Linked DNA regions of Homo sapiens: region 2 is linked to region 1. Evidence: promoter capture Hi-C in 16 types of primary human blood cells and fetal thymus (Javierre and others, 2016). All regions are on one chromosome and are shown on one strand. The core of a region is centred on a gene start or on the middle of the fragment in contact, and the rest is flanking DNA. Distances in the headings are between cores, read along the strand shown. Region 1 holds the start of RBM43 (RNA binding motif protein 43). Region 2 overlaps PRPF40A (pre-mRNA processing factor 40A).

Region 1 (2,786 bases), core at 135-2,634:
CATTAGTACTAATACCATATTTCTTTATTCGAATGTCTACTGGTAATTTATCTTTAAAATCAAAGAAACTTCTCCCTGAACCAGTATTTTTAGAAGAAAAAAACATAAAGATGTAAATTTTGTTTGGTAAGAACTAGTTTCTATGAATCATCTAATGAATTAGTACTTCAATGACTTGCCAATATTTGTCCTTAACTCCCTTTCATAGGTTGGAGAAAGTATGGCTAACATAGATAATTTTACTGAGGTCAATTATGAATAATGAGGGTTGTTCATCTCTTCTACCCACGATTAAGATAAAGAAATGCCTAGAGAAAGACAGTCCTTTCAAGGACTTTGAAACGAGCAGCTTTTAGCCAAGACATACTAACGTGATGGCGCATTTCCTTGCATCAGTATTGTGTTATAACAGACTTGGCCATCTTATCAGAAAGCAAAAAGTATATAGCAAAACTTTACTTTTGTAAGTAAGGCATTGGGAAGAAACAGAAGATTCATTGACTGCATTTGTTTATATTGATTTTCTCAAAATCAGTTGTTTATTTTCAATGACGACGCCTCTACCGCCACCAGGTCAACAAAAACGTACTTGCTTTTGCATTTCCGGGACTCTAGCATTTCAGAGCAGGAATTAAAGGCCTTGCCAAGGCTTTTAAGCGATTGATGGAAACAAAACAAAACACAGAAGGATAAATTTTGAATTTGCTAAGACAAGAATTCGCACCAAGGCAGACATAAGACATGAGGATGTCTTCCTGACTTGCGTCCTTGGCTCGAATCGTTCTTATTAGCCCTTTTCAAAAGGCAGCTGTGACCTCCATTTCTGGCTAATCAGGCCACTTTTGTTCCCCCCGAGGCGTGGGAGGACAACAGTTAAGCCCTAACAGCCTGCGAAGCAGCTCCTCGACGAACGGCGGCGTCCCCGTCGCCTGGGCAGTGGGTGTGGGAGGTGACAGCCTAGTCCTGAGCCTCTGGAGCGGGCCTATACTGCACCGCCGTACGTGAATTTCAGGAGCGCGCAATGCCGCCACCTGGGAAGGGTGCAGCGAGGCTGACCTGAGTTTGCCCGCCGGGGTGGACGGCTCTCCGGGGCCCCCGGGGTCCCTGGGGCCCCTCCGTGCGCCGCCCCCTCCCGCGCAGCCCTGCACCCTGGCCCGTCGCGCCCGGTTCCGCGCCCTTCTAGGGGACCATGGCGACGGTACAGGCACGGACCTGCACCGCAAAACCCAAAGCAAAAGCAACTTGCCATGGCGGAGGGGAGACGCGCCCTCAGCGGCCGCAGAAAGCCCACAACCAGCGGAACGCAGGCGATGGGGAGAGGAGCGAGCAGGCAGGTTTTGGTTTCGTTTTTTGTTCCAGCTCCCTTGGAGGCTACGAAGAAAAGGGCGGTCCTTCCACCCGATCCGGCTGTTCTGCGACCTCGTGGCCTCTGAGTGGGAGCTCGGACTCAGGAGTGCTGTTGCCAGCGCCTGCCCAGACGCCCTCCGTAGTTTTGCAACTTGTGGAAGCACTCTGGAGAGAGGCCGAGAGGATTCCTCGACAGGAAATTTGGGAATTCTCTGGGTGATGCATCAGTGATTGCAATTTTGTTTTTACCCGTTTTGCTAAGCAGCAGCAACAACGGCAGAGTTGATTTAAAAAAAGAAAAAACGCAAAAAGGGAAAACACATAGTAGGTGGTGGCCGCTTCCTGTGTTGATACTGGGGGGCTACGCTTTTCCTAACATCAATCATCTCGTAGTTGCAGAGAGCCCTAGATGTCATGATAGTTTTGAATCGCATGCATTATCATGTAAGGGAGTTAAATATCTTGCATGCATGCTCTCTTCTGTGTTTATATATTCGATGCCATGAAATTGAAGGGCATGTGGCTAAAACCTTTTTACTACATGAAACTTTACAACACTTTTGAAAACATTTCAATTTGGTTGATGCGCACTGTAATATTTCTCCAGATAACTGTCCAAAATTTTCCATGGAGAAGGCTTTTATCCTCATTAGTTGCTGGCCTCAAACTAACCATCTAGGATATTAAACTTCTGCCAGAATTTTACATCCAGCTACCTTTACTTTTTAGAACGTATTCTCTATCATGTTATTGATATCAATTTCTACTTCACACAGATGGTTTTTTACAACAGCAAATCAAGTTTTTCTAACATCAGTTTTAAAAAGCCCTGCACTCAGTGAAATCTGGATGTCTTTCCTACGCCCTTATTATCTGTCCAGACTTCTTCCCCTTCCCCCACCGCTCACCTGGGCCTTTTCCTCTGCACAACCTACCCCAGTTCCCCAACCCCCACCTCAACCCCCAACGCCGTGTTGGTCACCTTCCCAGCCCAGACCAGGAGCCCTCTTGGACCTCTGCCGGGTGCTAAGGACACAGGATGAGAGCGCCAGGTCCCTGCCAGCAGAGAGCTCACCACCTTGTCCATGCCTTAGCACAGGAACCCCGAATGGCGCCTGTGGGGACACAGGGAATCTCTGGACAAACTTCAAAATCAAATCAATGAATGCATGAAGAACAAAGGTAGATGGCTAGCAGATATGAAGAAACCCAATCCCACTCCTAAGAAATGTAAATTGAAATAATAAGATACCATTTTTCACAACTAGATCTGCAAAACCAGAAAGTGTTAGCCTGAATGTAAGCATCAGAGTTGCTGCAAGCATAGATGGATGCAAATACTTCTAAAGATTTTTATCAAAATGTAAAGTGCAAAAAAATGTAAAATGCACATATTCTTAGTCTCAGCAATTCTACTTTTAGAACTGAACTTGAAGTTA
Region 2 (2,924 bases), core at 338-2,837, 1.4 Mb after region 1:
TCTGATAAAGTCAAAGAACTGTGAGACTGAAATTATTTCAATAGTGGATCCCTAACCTGAAAGAATCACCTGAGGAATATTTTTTTAAAGCAATATGAATTAATATCCAGATATTTGGAATATTAGATGACTGATGTGAATTCAGGTTTGAAAACCACTCTGACAAAACTGTATGGTTCTTATTCTATTTTACTTGCCCCATTTTAGGGGTGAAAAAGCCTTGCCTTTTACATTATGGAAAGCAAGTTGCTTCAAAGATGGCTGAGCTTGATGTTTCTTCTTCCCGTGGCACTAATGACATCTTGGATGACGTAATTTTTTTTTCTTTCTTTCTCTTGGTTGAGGGCGGGGTATGTTTGAGCCCTGTACATTGCAGGATGTTTATCAGCATCTCTCGCCTCTACACACTAGATGCCAGTAGCATGTTCCCCACAAATAGTGACAATCACAAAATCTTTCTTGGTTGAGCACCACTGTCTTAGATCCAAATCGGTATTAATTTTTCTCCATCTTCATCCTTCTTTTTGTTCTCTTATATACTGTTCTCAATGTAACTGTATTCATATATATGCTTGAATTCCCAACTTTCCGAGATGTTGTTTAATGAGACTCACCCTTATTTTTCAATTCTTCCTTCATTCTCTCCCTCTTAACTGGTTTCCTCTTACCCAAGAAAAGCCTTTCTCTTAACTGCAAGCTTATTTGAATTTTACCTTATTGAATATCTTTCAACTATTTGGCAGACCTTTAACTTTCCCTACCATGCCAATGGTCACTAAACACCTTAAATGCCACTCTTAACACCTTAAATGCCACCCTTAACAGTATTCTTTCAGTCCTCATTCCATAAAAATTTCTTAACATGTTACTTTAGGTGGATTCCTTTACCTCAGGGGTTTCTCAAAGACTCATTTGAAGGACTGTTTAAAAAAATCATATTGTTAGGTCCCATTTCCAGAATCTGATTCTGTAAGTCTGACGTGGAGTTTGAGAATATGCATTTTCATAATTTCCCAGGTGATACTGATTCTGTGCATTTGGGGATCATGCTCTATCTTAAAATTCCAAACTCTTGGCTTCTGAGACACTATACATTCCTCTGGTTCTCCTTGAAAGCCTCAGATCAATCCTTTCCAGACAAAACTGACTTCAAATACCAGTTTTAAGACATAAGAAAAACAAGATCATAGTTTCCTTGTCACAGACATGATGAATTTTCTGATTAGCAAATGAACACTAAATAAAAAGCTAGTCATCATCATAATCATAACTACTGAGAAGCTCTCCATTAATGATCTTTTATTGTCTAATGCCAATCTTCTCTTTTAATTCATTTCACTAAAGTCCTAAATAAATCTTTTGAAATAGCACAACAGGAAAATTACCAGGCTGAATATCTGAAAGAATATTAATACAACATACTTAACACCAATTATATTAGTAGTAATCAGAAACTATGCCAGACACATAGCAATCTGATTCAAAGCCACATTTAAGCTTATTTAAGGAACCGTAACAGCCTTCACATCAAAATTTTGCCTCACAGTCTCCATCTTCAATATTGTTTACATTATAGTCTCGTATTTTCTATGACCCAGACCTTATTTTCACTGTATTATTATTTTTTCATATATGTCTCCTTATTTTAAACCACTGCAAAACCTTCATCAGAGACATTAAAGCTTAAGTTGTGGAAGAGTGTATAATAGCCCTCCTAAGAATCTGTCCTCCCCTTCTTTCTGGGCACATGGCTGCTTAGCTAAAAGCTAAGTTTTCTAGCCTCCTTTGTGTAGCTAGTTGTGGCCCTGTGACTAAATTCTCAGCAACTGAACCCAAATGAAGGAGGTGAGCAGAACTTCTACATCATTAGCTTTAAGAAGAACTGTTCTTTCTACTTTTTCCAAGTTAAAATGTGAAATGGGGGCAGCATACCCCTAACTCTGCAGAGAAGGTTAACATGCTAGCGCACTGGTTCTCAAACTATGGTCCAACAGTATCAATATCACCTGGAAATTTAGAAATGAAATTTTCAGACTCCACCCCAGACTTACTAATTCAAATTCTTCAGGTAAGGCTAAACAATTTGTGTTTTTAACCGTTGTAGAACATGATCAAGTCTAGAAAGTCACTAAGATAAAGGAACCTATCAAGAGTAGTAAATGTTAAGTTTTCATTGAATAAGGACTGAAATCTTTCTACTGGCTGTGACGTTTAACACAGTAACCTTTGGCATAGCGCGAATAATTTTTTTTTTTGGAGACAGGATCTCGCTCTTTTGCACAGTCTAGAGTGCAGTGGCACCATCGCAGCTCACTGCAGCCTTGACCTCCTGGGCTCAGGTTCTCCCACCTCAGCCTCCTGAGTAGCTGGGACTACAGGCATGCACCACCACACCCGGCTAATTATTATTATTATTATTTTGTATTTTTAGTAGGGACCGGGTTTCATCGTGTTACCCAGGCTGGTCTTGAACTTCTGGACTCAAGCAGTTGCCAGCCTCAGCCTCTCAAAGTGCTGGGATTATGGGCATGAGCCACCGTGCCCGGCCAGAAGAAATTTTTTAAAAATCCTCCACTTCATTCTGATACACTGAATTTTGAGAACCACTGCCTTAAGGGATGGCAATATGCCCTGCCCTAGACCAAAAAGACTGTTACTTCAAGAAAAAAACTTATTTAAGCCATTGTAACCTAGCATTTATCCTAATACAATGGTTAATGGAAGAGACCCTGTAATCAAAACTGCATGGATTCAAATTCTGGCTTCACTATTCAGCAGCTGTTGAACTTGGGCAAGTCACTTCACCTCTCCATTTCCTTAGTTATATAAACTTATATAACAAAAACAGTAAGTACCCTTATAAGGTAAGACTGTCATAAAAATTGAGATTACAAATGTAAATTGTATTGACAGTAAGCAATCAA

What was found. The method cuts DNA at HindIII sites, captures the fragments that hold promoters and counts their contacts. A CHiCAGO score of 5 or more calls a contact.
Region 2: a contact is called between a fragment that was not itself captured here and the fragment with the promoter of RBM43 in region 1, in 4 of 17 cell types (non-activated CD4 T cells, total CD8 T cells, total B cells and 1 more). The highest score is 7.5, in non-activated CD4 T cells.

What each region holds. Positions count from the first base shown.
Region 1 is chr2:151,260,479-151,263,264 of GRCh38, forward strand. It overlaps RBM43 (RNA binding motif protein 43), which reads right to left and starts at 1,385. Exons shown (of 4, transcript NM_198557.3): 1 at 1,247-1,385. The coding sequence starts at 1,249. RefSeq lists a silencer at 929-1,198 and an enhancer at 1,239-1,468. The HindIII fragment of the contact is 8,034 bases long and covers 1-2,786 here.
Region 2 is chr2:152,665,747-152,668,670 of GRCh38, forward strand. All of the region lies in intron 16 of PRPF40A (pre-mRNA processing factor 40A), which reads right to left. Among named protein-coding and RNA genes, the nearest start is that of PRPF40A, 50 kb to the right of the region's middle. The HindIII fragment of the contact is 185 bases long and covers 1,496-1,680 here.